Linked DNA regions of Homo sapiens: regions 2, 3 and 4 are each linked to region 1. The links are contacts of gene promoters, found by promoter capture Hi-C in blood cells and fetal thymus (Javierre and others, 2016). All regions are on one chromosome and are shown on one strand. Each heading gives the region's core, a stretch centred on a gene start or on the middle of the fragment in contact. The rest is flanking DNA. Distances are from core to core; before and after follow the strand shown.

What was found. The method cuts DNA at HindIII sites, captures the fragments that hold promoters and counts their contacts. A CHiCAGO score of 5 or more calls a contact.
Region 2: a fragment that was not itself captured here is called in contact with the fragment with the promoter of LRP4 in region 1 in 6 of 17 cell types (M1 macrophages, M0 macrophages, megakaryocytes and 3 more); the score reaches 11.1 in M1 macrophages.
Region 3: a contact is called between the fragment with the promoter of F2 here and the fragment with the promoter of LRP4 in region 1, in 1 of 17 cell types (M2 macrophages). The highest score is 5.0, in M2 macrophages.
Region 4: a fragment that was not itself captured here is called in contact with the fragment with the promoter of LRP4 in region 1 in 1 of 17 cell types (M1 macrophages); the score reaches 5.2 in M1 macrophages.

What each region holds. Positions count from the first base shown.
Region 1 is chr11:46,914,837-46,920,971 of GRCh38, reverse strand. LRP4 (LDL receptor related protein 4) reads left to right here and starts at 2,422. Exons shown (of 38, transcript NM_002334.4): 1 at 2,422-2,644. The coding sequence starts at 2,593. RefSeq lists enhancers at 1-496, 497-998, 1,693-2,197, 3,361-4,232 and silencers at 2,258-2,487, 2,498-2,677, 2,688-2,857. The HindIII fragment of the contact is 10,743 bases long and covers 1-4,869 here.
Region 2 is chr11:47,134,530-47,140,664 of GRCh38, reverse strand. CSTPP1 (centriolar satellite-associated tubulin polyglutamylase complex regulator 1) reads right to left here. Exons shown (of 9, transcript NM_024113.5): 4 at 2,936-3,020. It overlaps LOC124902671 (a long non-coding RNA gene), which reads left to right and starts at 3,789. Exons shown (of 2, transcript XR_007062666.1): 1 at 3,789-3,848. The HindIII fragment of the contact is 949 bases long and covers 3,209-4,157 here.
Region 3 is chr11:46,715,820-46,721,954 of GRCh38, reverse strand. F2 (coagulation factor II, thrombin) reads right to left here and starts at 2,742. Exons shown (of 14, transcript NM_000506.5): 1 at 2,641-2,742; 2 at 2,093-2,253; 3 at 1,408-1,432; 4 at 1,115-1,165. The coding sequence starts at 2,719. The HindIII fragment of the contact is 4,700 bases long and covers 1,136-5,835 here.
Region 4 is chr11:47,073,253-47,079,387 of GRCh38, reverse strand. The region is part of intron 3 of CSTPP1 (centriolar satellite-associated tubulin polyglutamylase complex regulator 1); the gene reads right to left. Among named protein-coding and RNA genes, the nearest start is that of ARFGAP2, 100 kb to the left of the region's middle. The HindIII fragment of the contact is 3,128 bases long and covers 2,302-5,429 here.

The DNA of each region.
Region 1 (6,135 bases), core at 1,173-3,672:
CTATGCACGAAGCTAGTTTCTTACCCATTGATATTCCCAGTGACTCACAGCAGCCAGGGATGACTCTGTGCACCAGAACTGTGCTGAACCGTGGAGAAGGACTTGGGATGCACATAGGAAACAGTCTCTCAAGCTGAGTCAGACAGGGACAGCCCGCCTCTCGTTTCTTCTCCAATTCCAGAAAAACAACACAAATCATGCCTCTGGAAAGGAACCTGTCCTTTGCATACAGAGTGGAAACTGTTTATAACTTCTTAATCCCCTGACATTGAAAGTATGGGGACTGCCTATCCTGGATTTCTTTGGGACAACTGTACTGGCTCTACCACAAGTCCCTAGTTTTCAGCTGGAAAAAAATATGGTCTCCAGAATCCCAAGGTCATTCCCAACAGATTTAAAAGCAAGTCTTCGGCCAGGCAGAGTGGCTCACGCCTATAATCCCAGCACTTTGGGAGGCCGAGGCGGGTGGATCACCTGAGGTCAGGAGTTCGAGACCAGCCTGACCAACATGGAGAAACTCCGTCTACGAAAAATACATTAGCCGGACGTGATGGCGCATGCCTGTAATCCCAGCTACCCTACTCGGGAGGCTGAGGCAGGAGAATCGCTTGAACCCGGGAGGCCGAGGTTGCAGTGAGCTGAGATGGCGCCATTGCACTCCAGCCTGGGCAACAAGAGTGAAACTCCGTCTCAAAAAAGAAAAAAAAAGAGCAAGTCTTCATAAGCAACATATATGAAACCCTGAGACCAACCAAACCTGCATTAGGAAATGAGAGGTGGGAAGGAGGATGCTGGGGAATCAGCCTCTACTTTTGACGTTTTTTCCTCCTTGGATTTTAGGCTGTGGTAACTGATCGAGGCCAGAAATGTTGACAGTCTTGCCTAGCCCCAAGATCATGTAAGCCTGACCTGACGCTACTGCCGCCTTCAGTCAGCAAGAAGAACTACACACCCAGAAAATGCTTCAGTAATAGTTACCATGGTGATGCTAGTTCAACCACATTGCATCTGGATAAAAATTTCAGGCAAAACGATATAGAAAACTACTGCCTAACAAGGAGTTAACACCTTACATCTTTTATGTTGTTGTTGTTGCTGTCGCAAAGTATGGTTCATGTTAGCTTTGGTAAAAGATGGTAATTTGAAGTGAAAGTACTGAAAAAAACAAGCAAGGATGAAATGTCAATGTATCCATTTAGAGAAATCTAATAACCACTTTGCACTATGCCAAATTACTTTCCCCTCAGCTAACAGGGGGCATTTGGGTCTTCCTGACTCTATTTACTGGTGAGGAAAGTGAGTTAATGAAATCCATAGATGATCCAAGCCCAAGAAATGCTGGCATATCAGCTGGGAGGGAAAAAAGCGATATACTGGGCCATCAGAAAGTTGGGCATTTGGGCAAAAGGAACAAAACAAGATTCAACCTGGAAAAATGGAAGGTGGTGAAATTAATCCGTATTATTAATATGCATTAGGGAGAGTAGACCACAAAAGGAAGGAAGACTAGAGACAAGTTTATGATTTTATGCAGTAAATCAAAAGTTAAATCTGAGGGAAGGACCTACAGACTGGGGCTGGAAGGAGGCTGAGGGCTTTGTGGGAGTGCAGCTGCCCATGAGGACTCCTTTCCTGACCCCCTCCCTTCCTTGTCAGGATCAGAAAGTCAAAGAAGGTGAAGAGGCTAACAACAGTGATTTACAAAGACAGCAAGGAGGAACTAAGTCTGTATGGGCCGAATCTGGGCCTCTGAGCTGGAGCAACAGGACCCAGACAACCATCTCAGGAAATGAGTGAATGAAAAGGGGCGGGGGGGTCGGTGAATTATTTAGCCCTAGAACAACGCTGCCTAGACCGGGGGAGGCCAGGGAGAAGAAAATCTCCGAAAAGGAATTTTGACAGTGAGAACGCCAGTTAAGATACAGCACTCCAGGCCCCCTGATGTCCCTTGTTTGATGTCAATAAAGACCCAAGAGGATTATGCATCCACAAGCCTTGCGTATTCGCAGACATCAAAAAAGTCTGGACTTGGGGCCGGTAGGCGGGGGCAGGGTCACGTCCAGGCGACTTGGGTCAGCTCAGGTGCTCGTCTGAAGCATAGAGCTGGAGTGAGCGGGGGCGAGACTTGCTGCTAGGATAATTTTTTTTTTTTAAGTTAGGGAAATTTAAGCAGTAGTAATAGCGACAGGGAGGGGGCTCTCTCTCGGGCCAGGAATGTGGGGGCGGCCTGAGGAGGAGCGGGGCCCCGCGCAGGAGGCGCCGGCGGGTGGGGTCGGGGGACCAGGGAGCCGGGGCCGAGGGCGGGAAGGGGCCGGGCCGGCGCTGGGGGCGGGCCCAGGCGCGGTGGCGGTGGCCGGGGCTGCGGCGCGGGGGGCGGGGCGGTCGGGCCCGGGACACCCCCTCCCGGTCCCCTGGCGGGGCAGCGTCGGCTCTGGCAGCACTGGAGGCGGCGGCGGCCCGAGGGCGACTTGCGGGGCGCGCAGGCCGCCGTGCACCCGGGACGCTTCCCCCTCGGGGACCCTCCGCGGGCTTCTCCGCCGCGCCGTCCGGCGGGAGCCGGCGGGACCCCGGGCGAGCGGCGCGGGCGGCACCATGAGGCGGCAGTGGGGCGCGCTGCTGCTTGGCGCCCTGCTCTGCGCACACGGTAAGCGGCGCCCGCCGGGAAAGTTTGTCCCTGGGTCCGGCCGCTGCAGGACTCGCCTCCCGGGACCTGGACGGCGCGGGCCGGGGCCTGAGACCCCTCGCCCTCGCTCCTAGCCGTGGCCCTGGGGCTGCGTGCAGGGGAGAGGACCCGGAGCGGCCCCGGCTCCAGCAGTCCGAGCGGGGGCATCAGCGGAGGCGCTTCCGCGGGTTCGGGTCTGGGCCGGGGCGCGGGTCTGGGCCGGGGCGCGGGTAAGGTCCGGGGCGTTCGTTCGCTCGCCCTCCCTCGCTGCTCTTTCAAGAGCGGGGGCTGCTTCCCTTTCAGGTTAGGTCGGGGGCTCTGTGTCCTTGGTGCGAATGAATGCGTGCGAAGAAAGGGAGGCGGGTGAGGAGGGTCGCTAAACCCATAAATTGTAAATAGCCCTCCTTCCTGGGGCTGGGGGCTCGGGCGGGTTGCGGAGAGAGGCCCCGGTAGAATCTGGTACTTGGGCACCGGGATTCCTCTACTCGGAGAACGATTCCCGGACTCCAGGTCTTGCTCCCACCAAGGGGCTCTGGGGCACTGTTTGCGGGCAGCATCTCCCCTCGGCGGTGTTTCGGGGTCCCTCTCTTGGCTGCGGCCAGTCAGCTTCCAGCCCTGGATCGTCCTAAAGGGAGGTGGTTGGAAAGGGGGCTGAGGAGGAATATAGGGAAGAAACTGCTGGAAGGCTCCCGCAGATCTGCCCTGGCTGGGGTAGGGGGGCAGGGGGCCGGTAACCCTGAACCCCAGAAGGCAGCCGCCGGGCCCTCGCGGCAGGGTCCCAGCCCTCGGGGGAGCTGGACGGCTGCAGCAGGACTCCTTGGTGCCCGTACCCCCTGTTGTGTGGGACTAGGGCTCCGATGGAATCTGCTTCTCCGCGGGCTCTTAACGACCCTGGGTGCACCCCGTGATTGAGCAGCTTTCCCTAGTTTGTGCCCAGAGATCAAAGAACTTTGATCTTTGAACCCCAGCCCTATTCACCCATCGCTATTCATCGTGGCGGGAGTTCCGAGTCTCCCCATTTGCCTCGCAGCCCCGATGAAGGGAGCTGGGGCTCAGAATGGAGGGGTCTGGAGACCCTGCCTGGTCTTTTACCGGTTCTTTCTTTCACGTAGGACAGCTCGTGTGGAAAAAGTCAGTGCAGATTTCCGAACTTGCCTGGCAGGGCGTGGAGATGTCTAGGCACTCGTTTTAAAGATTGGTTTACCTCCCAAATCCAAAACAGAGTTTTCATGTCTCTTATTTAAACTACCTGTGGGTTTTCAGGGGCTTTTTTCCGCGTCCTCTCTAGCGCGGACTGAGCTCTTTCTCTCCGAAGAGCGGTAGCTTGGCCGGCCCACGTTCCGCTCCGCTCTGCGCTCTCCCCTCCCCGGCTCTCTCCTGGAAGGTTATTTGTAGCCTCTTTGGCGTGTTGGGACAGCGGCCCTACTGGGGTAGGAATGTAGCTGTTCTTCCCACCACATGGGCCCCTTAAAGGGACAGCTTTGCTTTTTGGGGGGTTTCCCCCTTCGGGTTGCAAGGAAAGGGGATGGAACTTTCCTCTCAGCCCCCTGGAGGAAGTTTTGAAAAAGATCAAGGGAAATGGCAAGGCACTGGGAAAAAAAAAAAAAATTAGGGTTAAAACGGATACCAACAAAGCCAGAGAGGAGATTGTCGCCTTCTGCCCTAGGGAAGGGGGAGCTGGAAGGTTCCGGGCTGAGACTGGCCAAGAAGATTTTACTGCTCCAGAGCTGTCAACGCTGCAAATATTACATGTGCATAGAGGATGGGGGTGAGAATGGGGGGAGAGAATTGCGTATGTCTAATGTTTCACAGAAAAAGAATGGGAGGATTCGCGGTAACGCTTTTAGGTTTCTTTCTCTTTTTTTTCTTGGAGAGGGTGTCTCACTCTGTTGCCCAGGCTGGAATGCAGTGGGGCAATCATAGCTCACTACAGCCTCGACCTCCCAAGCTCAAGTGATCTTGTCATCTCAGCCTCCTGAGTAACTGGGACTACAGGCATGCACCACCATACCCTACAAATTTTTGTTTTTTTTTCTAGAGATGGGGTTTCACCATGTTGCCAAGGCTAGTCTCCAACTCCTGGGCTCAAGTGATCCACCTGCCTCGGCCTCCCAAAGTGCTGGTATTACAGGTGTGAGCCACTGTGTCCGGCCCAGGTTTCTTTTTAAGGAAAAAAGTTTAATAGAAACGTCTAAGCATGGGAAGCTTTCTGTGCACATGTTTGTAAGGGTAGGCAGTGGGGTGAAGGTATACACATCACCTGGCCTGATACTGAGCCATCCTTGGAGGTCTGGGGGGTCAGATTCACAGTTCACCAGTAAGATTGAGCAGTTTCAGAGCCTGGAACCAGCACAACCAAAAATACCACCAAAACATCTTTTGGACTGACACTCAATTCCAGGGGCTCAGGGAGACAGCAGTTGTGATAAATGTAGTAGTAGATCCATTAGGCAGACCTGACCTCAGCAAGGCATGAATTAAAGACACTAAAGTTTAAGGTGATTTTGGGAGGCTGAGACTAGCGGATCACTTCAGGTCAGGAGTTCAAGACCAGCCTGGCCAACATGGCAAAACCCCATCTCTACTAAAAATACAAAAATTAGCCAGGCACAGTGGCACATGCCTGTAGTCCCAGCTACTCGAATGGATGAGGCAGGAGAATTGCTTGAACCTGGGAGGCAGAAGTTGCAATGAGCCAAGATCACTCCCCTGCACTCTAGCCGGGGCGACAGAGTGAGACTCTATCTTAATAAATAAATAAAGTTTAAGGTGCTTATTTGGATGCTGCTAGTCCTTGGGGCTTTTCCTAGAGCCTATTGGTTTGGACTCAGCCCACATAACTCTCCAACCTTAAAGATTTTGGAAGGAAACTTGATGGCTGGTAATAGCCCTGAGTGATTTTCATCCTGAAGTTTGAAGTAAGGGCATGGATGACAACCATTGGAAGAGTGGAAAGTGTGTTTGTTCTAGAGGTCTCATCCAGGTAAGGGAAATGTTAAAACTTCTGCCTAGGCGTGCTTGGGTAGATAGAAGGTTGTATCTGAAAATAAGTGCAGAGCAATTGAGCTGAGACTGGTCTCCTTTCCATCTCGCTGTTGTCGTGACCAGGGTTGTCATGGTGCTTGAGTGACCTTGTCCCTGATCTGTTGGGCTTGTGAAACATACTTGGCTTGTCACTGATTTTGGATTTCCTCTTCTGTACCCTGATGAATATCAGATAACATCTTTTGGACTGGCACGTGGTATTAAGAATGACAGGTGCAAGGGAACCAAGTCTGGCCATGTCTGATACAGAGCACGTTGGGTATGTCCATCTTCTGGGCCAGCAAAGAACACAGGAGGTCACAGAGGACACGGTGTTTTATAGCTCTTTGCTCACTCTTTCTACCGATTAACTGCCAGTCTTAACTGTTAGAAGGAAAATAGGAGAAATTGTTTATGTTGCTGCCCCTTTAAAGAAAAAAAAAATACTG
Region 2 (6,135 bases), core at 2,434-4,933, 220 kb before region 1:
GAATTTGAGACCAGCCTGGGCAACATGGTGAAACCCCGTCTCTACCAAAAATACAAAAAAAAAAAAAATTAGCCGGGCATGGTGTGCACACCTATAATCCCAGCTACTCAGGAGGCTGAGGCAGGAGAATCACTTGAACCCAGGGAGAGGCGGGGTGAAGGCTGCAGTCAGCCAAGATTGCACCACTGCCCTCCAGCCTGGGCTACAGAGTGAGATTCTGTCTCAAAGAAAACAAACAAACAAACAAAAATGTTTTTAATAAAATGATTTCTGCCCAAAGGGGAACGATCATGGAAATTTAAAGCTAACTCCATTTGGCTGCTTTTAAATTACAAGAGATAATCTCCCATACTTTTTTTTTTTCAGTGAAGAAAAAAAATATCCAAATCTCCTTTGGATAGCAGATAAATTAAAATTATAAAACCTGAACTGCGGCTTTTACCAGTGGCCAGTTGCCATCAGGAAAGAAAATTATCCACTGAATAATGAGGGAGAAAAAAACCTACAAAATTTTGCATGTGTGATCACTAAACAGGTTTTGCACATGACCAGCAAAAGTAGGTCATGAGCTGTTAGCTGCAAAACACCGTGCCCCACCGTGAGGCTGGTGTCTGTCACTGGGAGCAATGGAGTTCCCATCTTCCAAGTCAATAGAGGAGCTGGTTGGCACATTTCAAAAGGAGCGAGGTGATTCTTGGTGCAGTGCAGCCAATGCAGCTTTGTTTTCAGTGGGTCAAACCACAAAGCAGAAATGATGCCATGACACAGGGAGGTGGGAGCATGAAGAGACTCCTTGTGCTCCCGATCCCCCATCTCTGGATTCAGGCTGACTGCGGTTCCAGTTCTGCCACTGCTACTTACAAGCTATCAGTATATTCGCACAACATTGTCACCCGTCTGAGCCTCAGTTCCCACTTCAGTGAAGTGAGCAGTAACAGTACCCTTCCCTCAACTGGGGTTCATCACTTTCATGCTCCCTTTTTTTTTTTTTTTGACGTTCAGTCTCACTCTGTCCCCCATGCTGGAGTGCAGTGGCACAATCGGCTCACTGCAACCTCTGCCTCCCAGGTTCAAGTGATTCTCCTGCCTCAGCCTCCCAAGTAGCTGGGATTACAGGTGCCTGCCACCACGCCAGGCTAATTGTTGTATTTTTAGCAGAGACAGGGTTTCACCATGTTGGTCAGGTTGGTCTCGAACTCCTGACCTCAGGTGATCCATCCACCTCGGCCTCCCAAAGTGCTGGGATTACAGGCATGAGCTACCACGCCCAGCTGCTTTCAGGCCCTTCTGGTCTCCAACCGCAACCCTCTTCATCACAAGTCACTGCCAACCCTTGCCTCCTCTTTTCTCAGAATATCCTCTAGGGGTGTGTGTGGGAGTGTGGGTATGTATTTGTGTGTGTGTTTTGTTGTTTGCCTAATACTCTCACCACCCTCCAACTCTGTCTTCAGAGCCGGAGGCTCCCCACAGAAACCACAAAGGATCATTTTAAAGGGAAGTAACAGTTTTTACAAGGATTAGGTGAGATAGTTAAGGTAAACAAATTTAAATAGAACAATGAAGGTAAATGCATTCAGTATGATATAGGGAAGGTAGGCATTCTTCGATAAACATGATTTTTGCTGTACGTCCATTTGCAACCCTAGCTCAGGTTTTTTTTTTTTTTTTTTTTTTTTTTTTTTTTTGAGACGGAGTCTTGCTCTGTCGCCCAGGCTGGAGTGCAATGGCACGATCTCTGCTCACTGCAACCTCCGCCTCCCAGGTTCAAGCGAATTCTCTTGCCTCCACCTCCCGAATAGCTGGGACTACAGGCAAGCGCAACCGTGCCTGGTTAATTTTTTGTATTTTTAGTAGAGATGGAGTTTCGCCATGTAGGCCAGGCTGGTCTTGAATACCTGGCTTCAGGGGATCTGCCTGCCTTGGCCTCCCAAACTGCTGGGATTACAGGCGTGAGCCACCGTGTCTGGCCTAGCTCAGGTTTTGAGTTAAGTAAGTAAAAGTTAACTGAGGCATAGTCCAATTACCTCATGTGGTTAAAAATTGTGAATGATGGTGAAACCCAACACAGAAATTAGGGGCTTCTAACTATTTCTGCCAAGTCCTGGTTCTGGACTGATCTTGAAAACCTTCTTCTGGCATAAATAATATAATGTGCCTTTCCTTCAACTGGGGCTTTATCACCTTTATGCCCTTCCAGTCCCCAACCTCAACTCTCTTCATCACAAGTCACTGCCAACCCTTGCCCCCTGATATGGTTAGGCTTTGTGTTCCCACCTAAATCTCAACCCGAATTGTAATCCCCAGGTGTTGAGAGGGAGACCTGGTGGAAGGTGATTGGATCACATGGGCAGTTTCCCCCATGCTGTTCTTGTGATAGTGAGTGAGTTCTGAAGACATTTGATGGTTTTATAAGCGTCTGACATTTCCCCTGTCTGTACTTCTCTCTCCTACCACCATGTGAAAAAGGTCCTTGCTTCCCCTTTGCCTTCCACCACGATTGTAAGTTTCCTGAGGCCACGCGGAACTGTGAGTCAATTAATCCTCTTTTCTTCATAAATTACCCAGTCTTGGGTAGTATCTTTACAGTAGCGTGAAAACACACAAATGCAGCCCCTCTTTTCTCAGAATATCCTCTAGGGTGTGTGTGTGTGGGGGTATTGGAGGGGTCTGGGCTTTTTCTGCCTCTTCATCTCACCACCCTCCAACTCTATCTTCAGACCCTGAGGCTCCCCACAGAAACCACAAAGGATCATTTCGCTTCCCTTTGGAAATGCAGAATGTATTATGTTTTGGGGCACATCCCAAATAGACCCCTCTCCCACTGCCAGTTTCTTCCCTAAATGCTCCTTTTTTTCATTTGTATACACTCCAGGTTTCTCTAGGAAGCAGTGGCCCACAGAGAGCTGAGTTGGTTTCAAGAGTCCAGGAGACGTACCTGGCTGCTTTCTGAGTGAGCTCCAGCGGGAAATCAGGACACAGTAATTGCAGCAAACAGTGATATTCTTTCATGGTCAGCAAATCTGAAGTGGAAATGGAGAGGAACACATTAGGTCTCTGCATTTCAAGTCACTGCCCTCTTTTTGTTCATTTCATGAGTTTCAGACCTGGTCTTGGTAGAGCTGTTCTTTTAAAAGCAAGTCAGTGTGAAGGGTATGCTAGTCTCTAACCTCCAGGTGTGAGATTTTAAGATCAGTATTTCTACAAAGCTTTTCCAGGGTGGGAGGCATCCAGTTACACCATTTTGACCAAAGGAGCTTCACTGGTATGAAAATTGGTCGGGTGAAGAGAGCAAACAAGAGAGGCACCTTCATCAGTCTTCTTTAGTTTGGTTTTCCTTGTATATAAAAATCTGGAAGAACAAGTCATTTCAAAGCCGGTTAAATTTGCTGAAATTCTCTGGCATGGTAACGTTTCCCACCACATGCCCAAAGACCATCCACAGAATATCTGGAAGCAGTACTAACGCAAACAGTCTTGCTGTGTAGGGAGAAGAGTACAGCATAGAAACCCACAGACCTCATTACTCTGTCATCCAGTACTGCAGCAGGCTGGCTTCTTTTGAATGGCTGAACACAAATCTGGTCATCCTATTATAGGAAGCCAAGACAAAGGTCCAAGATATACAGTCAAGGCAACCAAATGATTCCTGATATACAGAAGCAATGCTTTGTGCTTTGGGAGAGGTGAGCCAGGATGAGGCTCTGTGGTCCAGCAGAGAACCCAGAGAGGTGAATCTCAGAGAAATTTATAGGATCCTGAGGGAGAAGAAATACACTGATGCTTAAGTTATTTTGTTGCTGCATGTACTGAAGGCAAAAGATTTTAGATCAGCCAAGGAGTAAGAATGTGTAAGTATTATCATATATCAAAGCATTTCGAATATGGAAGGGCCTGGTAATGCTAAAGTGAGAGCAATCCACCCGGAAGCCTGCCTAATTGGGAGGAGGATGAGTGAGAGGAGGGAATCCAGAGGGCATGGCTACATTTGGGGAATGAAGATGATGATCACAGGCACTTGGTTTCTTTGGACCTAAGTTAGCCCAAGCCACAGGAATCCAGATCTCCTGCCCCCGTTAGTTTGGTTGATGCTTTTCCAAGACAAAAACCCCAAATCTCCAGGGAAAGGCCTGGGTTCCTAGTACTTTTTCATCAAAGCTTAATTCAAGGTGGGGACAGAGAGTTTGACTAACCACACTGCCAAAGTCAGAAACACCAAAGGAACAGACTCAGCGTCAATATAGGTCAAAGGATCAAGATGGTTTTGTGGCACTCTCCTCTTCCCACTTGCCTGACCTCGGGCACAGCCTGGCAGGAGGTCTTGTTCTTCAAGGGAGGGAGTCATTGCCACTCGTGGTCTCAGGCTTGGGGTGAGGAAAAAGGCGAAGGGAAGGGAGAAAATCCACTGAGTCTAATGTGTTCCCACTTTATTCTCACTCCAGAACTCCCCATGTAGAGAAAAGAGAAGAGTGATTTCTGGCAGGGCAGGGAGTAAATAAAGGAAAGTTCTATCTTTGAATCATCGTGCTTTTCTAGGCTAAACTTTGGTGGATATATCTGATAGCATTCTTAGGGAGAGTCAGAGTGTTTCATAGGAACTTACATTTATCCCCCAAATTACCTACAAAATATCCTTGGGAAGATAACAGAATGAAGGAAAATGAAAAAATGAGAGAGAGAGAGAGAGAGAGTTACTTAATTAAGAAAGACAATGCTAGGAGTCAACATTAGCTTCCTGGTTTCTAGACCCTAGGCCCTCTTCAGGTTTTTGATATTATTCTAACTCATGTACTTCAAGTACTTGCTTCCAAGGACAGAAGAATGATTTACAAAAATCACTGCGTGCTTCTCTAACACAACAAAAGCTCTTAAAAATATGAAAAACAGAATACATCCTGCTCACCACTTCTGGAACTTGACTCTTCTAAATGTTAAGTGAGGACAGTAGTCAGATAAAGAGATTAATGAAAATGCAAGCAAATAAACAACTTTTAATTGTGGAGAGAGTAGTTCTATTAGTTGTTATTATTATTCTTCCATGCAGACTCTGTGTTGGGATGTGGAGAGAGGAGTTCTAATTCTACTGAAGTAGTGACCAGATAATGTCAAGGGCAGATGATTTCTGCTACTTCGAGACACTCCTCAGCTGTTGTACAGTGGGTATTGAGAGAACTATAAGTGGTAAGACTTATTTCAAAATCAGAACACTGATAGGCATATGGGAGCTTGTTCCCTTTCTGCTCCATAGGCTAGGATTCAAATTTTGGCTCTGCGATTCACCAGGTATGTAATCTTGGGCAAATTGCTTAATCTCTCTAAGTCTCAGTTTCTCATCTGTAAAATGCAAGTGACACTGACACTTCTCAGGGTTAAAGTCAAGTGTAAGAGAGATGATGTCTATAAAGTGCTTAGCAGAATGTCTAGAACTTAGTAACATCAAACAATGGGAGTTTGTTTTGGTTCTGTTTTCAAATTCTGGAGGTGAGAAGAAGAGAGGAGGAAGGTATTTGTTGCTGAGTTTTTTTTATTTTAAATTTTAATTAATTAATTAATTAATTAGTTTTGAGATGGGGGCCTCACTCTGTTACCCAGGCTGGAGTGCAGTGGCATAGCTCACTGCAGTCTCGAACTCCTGAGCTCAAGTGATCCTCCCATCTCAGCCTCCCAAGTAGCTGGGACTACAAGCATATGCCACCACACCCTGCGCATTTAAAAAATTTTTGTAGAGACGGGGTCTCGTGCCGTCACCCAGGCTAGTCTTGAACTTCCCGCCTCAGCTTCCCAAAGTGTTGGGATTACAGGCATGAGCCTGGCTGTTGCTGAGTTTGGACACTTAAACACCTAAAAGTTTTCTGCCTTGAAAGTTCTCTGTTGGGTTGCCTGAGCCAAATCCGTTTTGAACACTCTCCTGCAGTGGCCACTCACTTCCTATTCCCATGTGCCTGCTCTGTTCCAGGCTCCCCATTATGATGAACAAGGTAGCAGTCCCCCTAGCTTCTGCAGCCTGCATTTGGGCACCAGTTCACCCTAATGCTCCTGTCTATTTTGGGCCCTTTGGCTCTTAGAACTGTCCAAGATCTCAAAGGCCCTTCTCACAGCCCTTTGTGCTCCAGCAATAACTGTAAAGAGAGTGAGTAG
Region 3 (6,135 bases), core at 1,493-3,992, 200 kb after region 1:
AGGAGAATCACTTGAATCCGCTAGGCGGAGGTTGCAGCGAGCCGAGATCGCGCTGCTGCACTCCAGCCTAGGCGACAGAGTGAGACTCCACCTCAAAAAAAAAAAAAAAAAAATGAAAGTATGGCAGCCAGGCATGGTGGCTCACACTTATAATCCTACTCCTTTGGGAGACTGAGATGGGAGAATTGCCTGAGCCCAGGAGTTCAAGATCAGCCTGGGCAAAAAAGGGAGACCCTGTCTCTTATAAATAAACAAAGAGTTCCATTTTTGTCGTGCTAAAGGTGCCTTCAGAACACAGTGCAGGAGGGAGGGTGCTCCCTGAAGTCTCAGCAAAAGTGGTGACATTTGAAGCAGTCCTTGAAGGATAGGAAAGTGTTCAGTAGATGTGATGGTCGCTCCAGAGGAAATTGACAACATATGCAAGGCCAGGTGCTAGAAACACCTTGGCATGCTTAGGGAAGTCCTTGGTGTCAGAGCAGCTGGGGGTTTGGGTTCCTGTTTGGTTCAGTGACACCTAAAGCTAGAAGGGGAATGTGACATCATCAAAGCTCTGACTAGGTGGGGGCAGAGACTCGGGTCAGGCAAAGGAGAATGAAGCCTTAAACATGAATTCATGGCCAGGCGCGGTGGCTCACTTCTATAATCCCAGCACTTTGAGGCCGAGGTGGGTGGATCACGAGGTCAGGAGTTCAAGACCAGCCTGGCCAACATGGTGAAACCCCGTCTCTACTAAAAATACAAAAATTAGCCAGGCGTGGTGGCGAGCACCTGTAATCCCAGCTACTTGGGAGGTTGAGGCAGAGAATTGCTTGAACCCGGGAGGCGGAGTTTACAGTGAGCCAAGATCGTGCCACTGCACTCCAGCCTGGGCAACAGAGCGAGACTCTGTCTCAAAAAAAAAAACATTAATTCATTAGTCCATTCATTCATTCATTCGTTCGCATGCCAGACACAGAGCCAGGTACAAAGAGACATCTTGACCCCAGGAATGGGAGCAATGTCAGATGCTGGGGACTGCCTCGGCCTCCACCAGCCACACTCCAAACCCACCCCTGAGCTCTTCTCCCAGGCTCCCCTCCATGTCCTGCTCCCCAAACCCGTGTCAGTTGCTCACCTTCCAGACATGCAGCAAGCTTATCTCGAGGCGTCCTCGCTGTCTCACAAGCTGGAAAAGACCCAGGTGTTTACCTTTGGGATTGGGGTATGGCCAGGATGAGCTGGAGTCAGGGTGGATGGGATGTTGGTGAGAAACAGAAAGATGGATGAACAGATGGGAGGGACCAAGGAAGGAGTGGGGAAGGGGTGGATGGGTGGATGGCTAGGTGCAGCAGAAGATTCTCTGGGTAGAATTCTCTCACTGGGGTCCCCAGGCCTCCCTTCCTGGGGCAAATCCTTCCCGGTGCTCACCTGTGTACTTGGCCCAGAACACATCCTGAAAAACAAGGGCTGGGAGTGAGGCTACGGCAGCTCCTGTTTTGTGTTGTTTTAGTAAATGTTATGTCTCCTCCTCACACTTTCCTTTACCCTGGTCACGCAGGGGGCAGGCTCTGGGGAGGTTTGTGGCAGAGTTTCCTACTTTTGTTTCCAAAAGGAGAAGAATATTTGAGGATAGGGGAGTTCCTCCAACACACACACCGAGACTGAAAGAGGCTGGGGGAGATGGGAGGAGAGGGGGCAGTGGGACCCTGGCAGAGCCCTACAGACAGGAAAGGCGACACAGAGCTCCAGGAACACTGAGTCTTGAGCCCGGGGGCTTGTGGTGGCCTCCCCAGAGTCCCACCCCTCAAGGGTGGTGTGGGAGTCTGCCGCTGAGGAGGCCATGTGGACACAGAGCTCCAGGGCAGGTGGATGTCTGAAGACTGTGGAGGCCTCCCCATGTCATGGAGCTGCACAGGGACACAGTCCAGGCACAGAGACCCCCAGGAAAGGCTGAGGCCGCTCCTCTTGCCAGCCCTGTGAGGAGGGGCTCAGAGTTGAAATGAGGCTGTGAGCAGCGAAGGGGCTGTGGCGTTCCTCGCTTGCTTCTCTGTGGAAGTGTCTAGAGTTGGGCCCGGTCTGAGGCCCCGGCACCGTCCGAGCAGCCCAGGCTCACCGTAGCCGTGGAGGACTCCAGAGCCTCGAAGGCCTCCTCGTAGCTGCACGTCTCCTCCACGCACTCTCGCTCCAGGTTGCCCTTGCGCACCTCCTCCAAGAAGGTGTTGGCTCGCCGGACCCGCTGGAGCAGCGACCGTGCTTGCTGAGGAGCCAGGAACACTGTAAGGCGGTGGGGGGGTCATGGGACAGCGGCCTCAGGAACAGGCAGTCTTGGCCATTCTGGGGGCATGAAGCAAGCCCACCCTCCCCTGCTGGCTTCTGAGAGAGGCTGTCTGGGCTGGTGGAAGTGCCTGGAAGGCTGCTAAATGTGGCCCCCTGTGCCCCTCCTACACTGCCCCTTGCCCCCAGCCTGCTCCCTATATTGGAAGAGAGAAGCAGCCATTCTCTTTCCAGCCCTGAGCTCCTGACTTCTTCCCTAAGCTGGCCGCCTGGGGCTGAGACCTACTTAGGGGCCAGCTCTGTGTGCTCTGTCCAGCCAGGAGACCCCAGCCCATGGGCCCACACCCCAGTCCTCCAGCCTGTTCCAGCCTGCAAGCACTCCCTTACCATGCTGGCTGTGCACAAGGCTACACAGGGCAGCCAGGGCCAGGCAGCCAGGCAGCTGCAAGCCTCGGACGTGCGCCATAGTGTGTCAGCTCCTGGGTCACTGAGGAATTGTCTGTCCTGACCCCTCTGGGTTAATGTTGAACTAACATGAAGAAATCAGCGGAGAGGGTGAGGTCAGAGGGTCAGGGCCGTGGGGACGGGTGGGTAGATAGTCCTCCTGTCCATCTCCACCATCTGGGAGGACAGGTCCTCCTGGGAGCAGGGATGGATGGTCTAGGAGGAGTCACAAAAAAGGTCACTGTCACCCCCATCTCCCACCCTCCCCCTCTGAGATTTAGCCCATTCTGGCCAGTGGGGCTATGAGACTTTCCTGGAGCTCCTTCGAATCCTAACATATAGCGGTGGTTGCTTGTCATCTCTGTGTGCCTCAGTTTCCTCATCTATACAATGGGAATAATACTTTGTTGTGAGGACTAAAGGAGATTAGGAATGGAATGTCCATGGAATATCGTAAGTTCTTAATCAGATCTGCACATATAGGCCAATGTGGGGGTTTGTATAATCATAATACACAGATATCAAAAATAGAGACAAAGATAAAAGGTGTGGCCTGATGGAAGTTGCCCCTCGCCATGGGATGCACCAGGGATAGGAACAGCCAACATTTGCCCCAGCTTCTCAGCCACTGGAGGAGGGGCCCATTTCTCCTCCTTCCTGTCCAGGGTGCCTGGAGGTGTGTTTGTGTGTGGCAGCTGCCTGGGAGGAGTCAGGTCCAGGGACTCTTGGGCCTTTAGTCTATCTTCTGTCACCTCCCAGGACCTGCGCCTGTCCCGGAACAGGGGCTACTGAAATCCCTGGGTCTCCACTGAGGGGCCCTCCTTCTCCCTGGCTGCCTGCCCCATGGCAGGCCTAGAGAGGCTTCTGGTCCTACCCTACCCTCCGCCCTACTCCTGTCCCTCCCCCATTTCCTGTTTGCAGTACCCAAGGCAAATATTAGTCTAAGTAGGACAGAGGGACAAAGAGCAGGAACACGGGGAGGCACAAGTTCTCGCCTCGCCTCACCTGTCCTTTGGGCCTGGCTGTTTGGGGTCTGGACCAGGTCATGTGTGGGAACAGGGAGTGTTGGCAGAAAAACTGGGGACCAGGACTCCCGCAAACACCTTAATTCCTGGGAGGCCCATTTCTTATATATTTTCATATATATATTTTTAGGCCAGGCATAGTGGCTCACACTTGTAATCCCAACACTTTGGGAGGCCGACATGGCAGGATCGCTTGAGGCCAGGAGTTTGAGACCAGCCTGGGCAACATAGCAAGACCCTCATCTCTACCAAAAAAAAATTAAAAATTAGCTGGGAATGGTGGTGCATGCCTGCAGTCTGAGCTACTGAGGAGGCTGAGGCAGGAGGATCACTTGAGCCCAGGAGTTCCAGGCTGCAGTGAGCTATGATTGCACCACTGTACTCCAGCCTGGGTAACAGAGTAAGATCCTGTTTCTTTCTTTCTTTCTTTCTTTCTTTTTTTTTTTTTTTTTTGAGACGGAGTCTCGCCCTGTCACCCAGGCTGGAGTGCAGTGGAACAATCTCGGCTCACTGCAATTTCCATCTCCCTGTTCAAGTGATTCTCCTGACTCAGTATCCCAAGTAGCTGGAATTACAGGCGTGTGCCACCACACCTGGCTAATTTTTGTATTTTTAGTAGAGATGGGGTTTCGCCACATTGACCAGGATGGTCTCGAACTCCTGACCTCAGGTGATCCGCCCACCTCCACCTCGGCCTCCCAAGTGCTGGGATTACAGGCGTGAGCCACCATGCCTGGCCTGAATGAGACCTGTTCCTAGAAAAATAAAATAAAATAAAATAAAATTGAATAAATAAAATAAAATTATAATATATATTTTGGGTTTTTGTTGTTTTGTTTTTGAGATGGAGGCTGGAGTGCAATAGCGTGAACTCGGCTCACTGCAACCTCTACCTCCTAGGTTCAAGCGATTCTCCTGCCTCAGCCTCCCGAATAGCTGGAACTACAGGCACCCGCCATCATGCCTGGCTAATTTTTGTATTTTTGTAGAGACAGAGTTTCACCATGTTGCCCAGGCTGGACGTGAACTCCTGACCTCAGGTGATCTGCCCACTTTAGCCTCCCAAAGTGGGGATTACAGGCGTGAACCACTGCTACCTACCTGTTGGGTTTTTTTGTTTGTTTTTGTTTTGTTTTGTTTTGTTTTTTTGAGATGGAGTCTCACTCTGTCACCCAGAAAGGAGTGCAGTGGCGTGATCTCAGCTCACTGCAACCTCGGCCTCCTGAGTACAAGTGATTCTCCTGCCTCAGCCTCCCAAGTAGCTCCCAAGTGCATGCTAGGGATTACAAGCATGCACTACCACGCCCAGCTAATTTTGTATTTTTAGTAGAGATGGGGTTTCACCATGTTGGTCAGGCTGGTCTCGAACTGCTGACCTCAGGTGATCCACCTGCCTCGGCCCCCCAAAGTGCTGGGATTACAGGTATGAGCCACTGCCCGGCCTCTTTGCAGACTTTTACTCACAGTTGCAGGCCTGTTCAGTATATGACATTCTTATACCCAGAAATGGCTATCTTAGCCTGGGCTGCTATAAAATTACTGTAGGCCAGGTGCAGTGGCTCACGCCTGTAATCCCAATACTTTGGGAGGCCGAGGCGGGCCGATCACAAGGTGAGGAGTTCGAGACCAGCCTGGCCAACATAGTGAAACCCCGTCTCTACTAAAAACACATAAATTAGCTAGGCATGGTGGCACACACCTGTAATCCCAGCTACTCGGGAGACTGAGACAGAAAAATTGCTTGAACCCAGGAGGCAGAGGTTGCAGTGAGCCGAGAGTGTGCCAATGCACTCCAGCCTGGGCGACAGAGCAAGACTTCATCTCAAAAAAAAAAAAAAATTACTGTAAACTGGGTGGTTTAAACAACAGACATCTACAAGGGGTCTTCGAAAAGTTCATGGAAAATGCGTATTATGAAAAAAGACTGCATGGATTTAAAAAAATTTTTGTGCACCAAAATAAACTCACACTAACTTGCTATAACATGAGTGAACAGGATGTAGTTTGAGGCACTAAGAAGGATAAGACATCAGTTTGAAGCGAGCCCTTATCAGAGCTAAATGAATTCTGCTGAAATTGAAGCAAGAACAAACAACAAATTTACGGTGAAGCTTGGGTGGAAGAATGGTGAAATCACTGATGCTTTATGAAAAGTTTACGGAGACAATGTCCCAAAGAAATCAGCAGCTTACAAATGGACAACTCATTTTAAGAAGGGACAAGGCAGGCCGGGCGCGGTGTCTCATGCCTGCAATCCCACCACTTTGGGAGGCCGAGGCAGGTGGATCACTTGAGGACAGGAGTTCAAGACCAACCTGGCCACCATGGAGACACCTCGTCTCTACTAAAAATAAAAAAATTAGCTGGGCATGGATGTGCGTGCCTATAGTCTCAGCTATTTGGGAGGCTGAGA
Region 4 (6,135 bases), core at 2,616-5,115, 160 kb before region 1:
CTGCATCAGAAATGCTTTATCTATTTCTTCCATCTGGCTAGGTAGTCTATATTCTAATCCCACAATGATGTCACTTCTCTTCTGCTCTTCTTTTATCTGAATCCAGGTGTTCTCCAACACGCTCTCACCCTCAGATTTGTGTCCAGATGTCCATGCAGCTACAGATCTTTTTGATATCAAACTGTTTTGTGTCATTTAAGTCTCTCAAGTATATTTCTTTTTCGTTGCTCATGATCCCCCACAAGACCTCCGAATGACCTAGATTGAAGTGTCCCACAAGAAAACCTTCTCTCTGGTATTCTTGAGCACTGACTCTCCTTGAGCAAGCATTTTCTAAAGTTTTTGAACCCTGGAATGTCTCTTAAGACACTCCAAGGAAACGCCATCCTAGCCAAGATGATGATTAATACAACTTTTGGAGATAGAACGTTCTTGAGGGAAGTCCAGAAACCATATTGATTGGCTTTATTACAAATTTCTGCTATCTAACCTCAACTGGACACTCGTGGCTACTGGATAATCATTTTAGTCATCTCCTTTTAACTTGGCATCACATGCCTTCAGATATTTTCCATTCTCAAATTTCCAAGCTAATCCTATGCCCCAAATCCAAACTCTCAGCAGAGAACCTCTTATTTTCTTGAGAAGACTGAAGCCACCTTTTTAAGTCCCTCAATTTCCTTCCTTTATACCTTAATATTTCTCTGCATTTTCACTTATCTGCACCTCTTCCTTCCTTCTTTCAGAGAAAGAAATCTTTCCCTTCTCTTCCTACAATTAATCTTTCCATCTATGCTCTTGAGTCCATGTTATCTCAGTTTCTGGGACCTTGCTCCACCAACTATCCCCTTTACGCTTGCATCGTTGACCTTACCTTCTCCATTAACTCCTTGCTGTCTATGCACACATGTCTAAGTGGTGTCTTAATCTAAAAAATCTTTCATAGACTCAACTCACTAACACCGCTTTCTCCTCCCTTTGTTTTCAAAGCCAGATTTCTCAGAGGAGTATGCTATGCTCATTACCTCCTCTTTCTTACTACCCATTCATTCACTCAGTAACTCCTTCAACGTTGCTTCCGTCACTCAACTAAAATGGTTCTCTTGGAAGTTATAACTCATTTCACCCCAACCAAACTACTGTAGTAATTCTTCTAACCTGTCATACTTAACAAAACTCACTGAGTCCTCTGTTTTTTGCTTTGCTTCTTTAAATAATATGTTTATACTGCTATTTCTTGATTTTTAAATGTTAGACATCTTTTAACTTTCAGTTGAAGATGACAAATTATCTTTTTCACCACACACATATACTTCCCATCTGTCCATCTTTTCATGATACTAATTTTGGCTTACCAATATTCAGTATTTACTCATTTATGACTATGTAAATATTATGCACAGCAAAAACACAAGGTATATTATTATATTTTCTTTCTTATACAACCTTTTGTTTTTCTTAGAATGATTATTTCTTTCTCGGTTTGTGGGGGTTTTTAAGTATTAATCAGTGCTTCTTCAACTGAAGTATTAAACCCTAATTCTCCAACTGAAGGTTGGACAATTTTTTTACACAACAGATAATCAATTCTATTATTTAATTTTCCTGCAGAAATTCCTCCTAGAGCCTTCTGTCCTGCTACTTCAATCTGAATTGCTTTCTAGCTGTCTTGCACAAACTGTTGTCCTGCAACTACCTTCCATTATCATTCTAAGAATTCTCTTTCTTTCTCTCCTGTGTTGCACCCCTTGATGCTAGATCTCATAATTTCATCTTCCTAAACTTATTCTCACTTTTTGATAAAACATACTCTTCAGTAGTTTCATGAGAAAGGCTGCATAAAAGTTAAAGTTTATGAAACCCTGCCCATCTAAAAATCTTTATCCTCGGCTGGGTGTAGTGGCTCACACCTGTAATCCTAGCACTTTGGGAGGCCGAGGTGGGCAGATCACCTGAGGTCAGGAGTTCGAGACCAGCCCGACCAACAAGGTGAAACCCGTCTCTACTAAAAATACAAAAAATTAGCTGGGTGTGGTGGCGGGTGCCTCTAATCTCAGCTGCTTGGGAGGCTGAGGCAGGAGAATCGCTTGAACCCAGGAGGCGGAGGTTGCAGTGAGCCGAGTTTGGGCCACTGAACTCCAGCCTGGGCGACAAGAGCAAGACTCTGTCTAAAAAGAAAAAAAAAAAAAAACAACTTTATCCTCACAGTTGATTGATAGTTCGGTTTGGTACAGAATTCTAGGTTGAAAATAATTTTCTCTTAGAATTCTAAAAGCATTGCACTTTTTTTTTTTTTAAGCTTCTCATGTTGCTGTTGAGAAGCCTGATGGCATTCTAGTTCTTCCAATTTCTCTTTCTAGAACTTCAAATTTTTAGGTCTTATACTCCTGGACTGGGCCTTCAGTTTTCTTTTTTTTTTTTTTTCCTCCTGTTTTCTACTTCTTTGCCTTTGCTGGGTAATTTCTTGATCTTTCAACCCATCTACTGAATTTTTCTTTCAGCTATTACAATGTTTACTTTCTAAGAACTCTTTCTTGTTCCTTTTTTTTTTTTGGAGACAGAGTCTTGCTCCATCACCCAGGCTGCAGTGCAGTGGCACCATCTTGGCTCACTGCAACATCTGCCTACTGGGTTCAAGCAATTCTTGTGCCTCAGTCTCCCGAGTAGCTGGGATTACAGGCACCATGGCCAGCTGATTTTTATATTTTTAGTAGAGACGGGGTTTTGCCATGTTAGCCAGGCTGGTCTTGAACTCCTGACCTCAGGTGATCTGCCCTCCTCGGCCTCCCAAAGTGCTGGGATTATAGGTGTGAGCCACCATGCCTGGCCTCTATTTTGTTTTGTTTTGGCTTCTGGCTATCATATTAGAGACTTCCCCCAAATTTCTGGTGATCCTTGAATACCTGAATATGTTCATTCCTATTTGGTGCGAGGTACTAAAAAACTGGTTATCTGAATGAATTGGAGCTTGTTTATATTGAGCTTCACTGTAGAATGAATGGGCGGAAACCTGGTCATTTCATTGTGCAACTCCTAAATGTCAGATTTGTAGGGACTTCCTCTGAGGCTATTTCAGTTTCTCCAGAAAATATTCCAGAATCCCACCTGGGGTATATTCATTTGGAAGCCAGCATTCTGACAGCTAAGCAAGGGAAGGGAGCTGGAAAATAAATGTCAACATTTAGCAGATAGACATTGACAATCTTTTTTCACTAGGGCATCTCACCTACGCTCTGTGTCTGGTGCTCCTGAGTCAAGAGCTCCTCTAGTTTAATATCTCCAGTCTTCTATGGAATGAAGGGTAGTGACCTTGATGCTTGAAGTTGGGGGAGGGATCTGGGGATCTAATTGCTCCTCATAATGATTTTCAATATATCCTCTTATTTTCAGCTCCCCTCTCACTCCCAGTTTCAGAGTACTTGACACCTCCAATTCTTTTTTTTTTTTTTTTTTTTTTTTTTGAGAATGAATCTCGCTCTGTCACCCAGGCCTGGAGTACAGTGGCGCAATATCAGCTCACAGCAACCCAGCAACCTCCACCTCTCAGGTTCAAGAGATTCACCTGCCTCAGCCTCCTGAGTAGCTGGGATTACAGGCACCTGCCATCATGCTGAGCTAATTTTTGTATTTTTGTAGAGACGGGGCTTAACCACCCTGGCCAGGCTGGTCGCAAGCTCCTGACCTCAGGTGATCTGTCTGCCTCTGCCTCCCAAAGTGCTGGAATTACAGGCGTGAGGCCACCACGCCTGGCCGACACCTCCAATTCTTGAACCCACCTCCAATTCTTGAACCCTTTTAGGCCTCTATGGCACAAACATACCTTTTTCCTTTTGCAAGTAGTTATACATCAGTTTTCTTTACCAAATCAGTTTTTACTTATGCTTCTGCTGTCCACCGTCTAAAATTTGGTGGATATCTATTATTTCCTGTCATGTCTTCCTTTGTTTTGTTCTTGTGCCTTTACATCTTTTCTCCCTCTTTATTATACTTTTATTTTATTTTATTTATTTATTTTTTGAGGCAAGGTCTTGCACTGTTGCCCAAGCTGAAGTGCAGTGCTGCGATCTCGGCTCACTGCAGCCTCTGTCTCCTGGGTTCAACCGATTCTCCTGCCTCAAGTCCCAAGTAGCTGGGACTACAGACATCTGCCATCACACCTGGCTAATTTTTGTAGTTTTAGTAGATATGGGGTTTCACCATGTTGGCCAAGCTGGTCTCGAACTCCTGACCTCAAGTGATCTTCCTGCCTTGGCCTCCCCAAAGTCCTGGGATTACAGGCATAAGCCACCACACCTGACGTATTACAATTTTAGTGTGCTCTACAGAGACAGCAAATAAACACATGTATTTGGCCTGACACTTTCTAGAGGGTCTATAACTATTTACATGTCCATTTTCTTTCAGACGAGACTGTGAACTCTTTAAAAATAGAACTATATTCTCCTTATTCTTTTAGTACCAGCACCTAGAATAATACCTGGCACAGAGGACACACTAAAAAAATACTGTTGAATAAACGAATCGATGAATGAGGGAGCTCCCTGTATATCTTTCATCTGGCATAGAGCTTTGAACATTGAAAGCACTTAATAATACACAAATTCAATAAGGAAAACTTTATGGCTGACATTTTGTACTTAAAATTTCAAATATATGGTTCTCAGGAAGACTTGTATACATTGTAATTATCACTTACATGGCTACAGCATTTAGGGTATACACTACAAACAGAATATAGTCCTGTTAACTAAGTAACTGCTAAAAGTGAATTCTGATTCCATTGTTTGAAAAGTCTCCATCTTAATGTCTTTTTTAAAAGAAAATTTCCCCCCTTCCCCAACCTTAGTTTTGATTTTTTTTTTTCTGTTTTTTTTTTTTTTTTTTTTCTGAGACAGGATCTTGCTCTGTTGCCCAGGCTGAAATGCAGTGGCATGATCACAGCTCACTGCAGCCTCAACCTCCTGAGCTCAAGGAATCTTCCCACCTCAGCCTCCCAAGTAGCTGGGCCAGAGGCGTGAGCCACTATGCCTGGTGAGTTTTTCTTATTTTTGTAGAGATGTTGGTCTCATTGTGTTGCCCAGGCTGGTCTCAAATTCTTGGGCTCAAGCAATCCTCCCATGTTTGCCTCCCAAAGTGCTAGGACTATAGGCATGAGCCATGGCAACTGGTGCTTTTTGATTTGTTGTTGTTGTTGTTGAGACTGTTGCCCAGGCTGGAGTGCAGTGGCGCAATCTCAGCTCACTGCAACCACTGCCTCCCGAGTTCAAGAGATTCTCCCGCCTGAGCCTCCCAAGTAGCTGGGATTACAGGTGTGCACCACCACGTTCGGCTAATTTGATTTTTTTAATAGAAGAAGAAAGGTGTAGGAACATATTAACCACAAATTAAAAGACTATATGAAAAGCCACTGTTTGACTTGAGAACAAGCTTGTGCACAGAGATGACAGTGTTACACAGCATATGTACTGAAATCTTCTACCCTCAATACACTAAAATAATGAATTTTTCATAGTAGTCATAGTTTTTACATCACTTTAGAGTCAATATTCAGAATAATTACAAAATATTTTTCTAGGACCTGCTCAAGTATACAAAAATATAGTTTGTAATATATCAAAGATATCTTATGAAATAAACTTAGCAATAAAGCAAACTTCTCCATCACAAATCATATTTACTTTTTATTCTAGACAAGCTGGTTTCCTCCTTTCTTTTCAAAAAGCATTATTATTATCACTTTAGCGCTCATGCTGCCTAAAATGCCTTCTTCTCTCCCTCCTATTCAATTTTTGTCCATCTTTCAAGGTCCAATCTAAGCTTCCTTTTCTTTCTTTCTAAGTTTTAAAATATTTCTCAAAAAAATACAGGGTCTCACTATGTTGCTCAAGTTGGTTTTGAACTCCTGGGCTCAAGCAACCCTCCTACCCTGGCCCCCCAAAGTGCTCGGATTACAGGCATGAGTCACTGCACCCAGCCTAATCTTCATTTTCGATGAAAGCTTCCTTCCATTGAGAGCTTCCTCTCCTCTTCCTGATGCTCCGTAGCACCTTTTTGAACCATACATCCCGACACCGGATTACATTCTATAGGATCCCACTCCCTAGTTGTCTTCCCAGCTAGATTGTAAGCATCTTG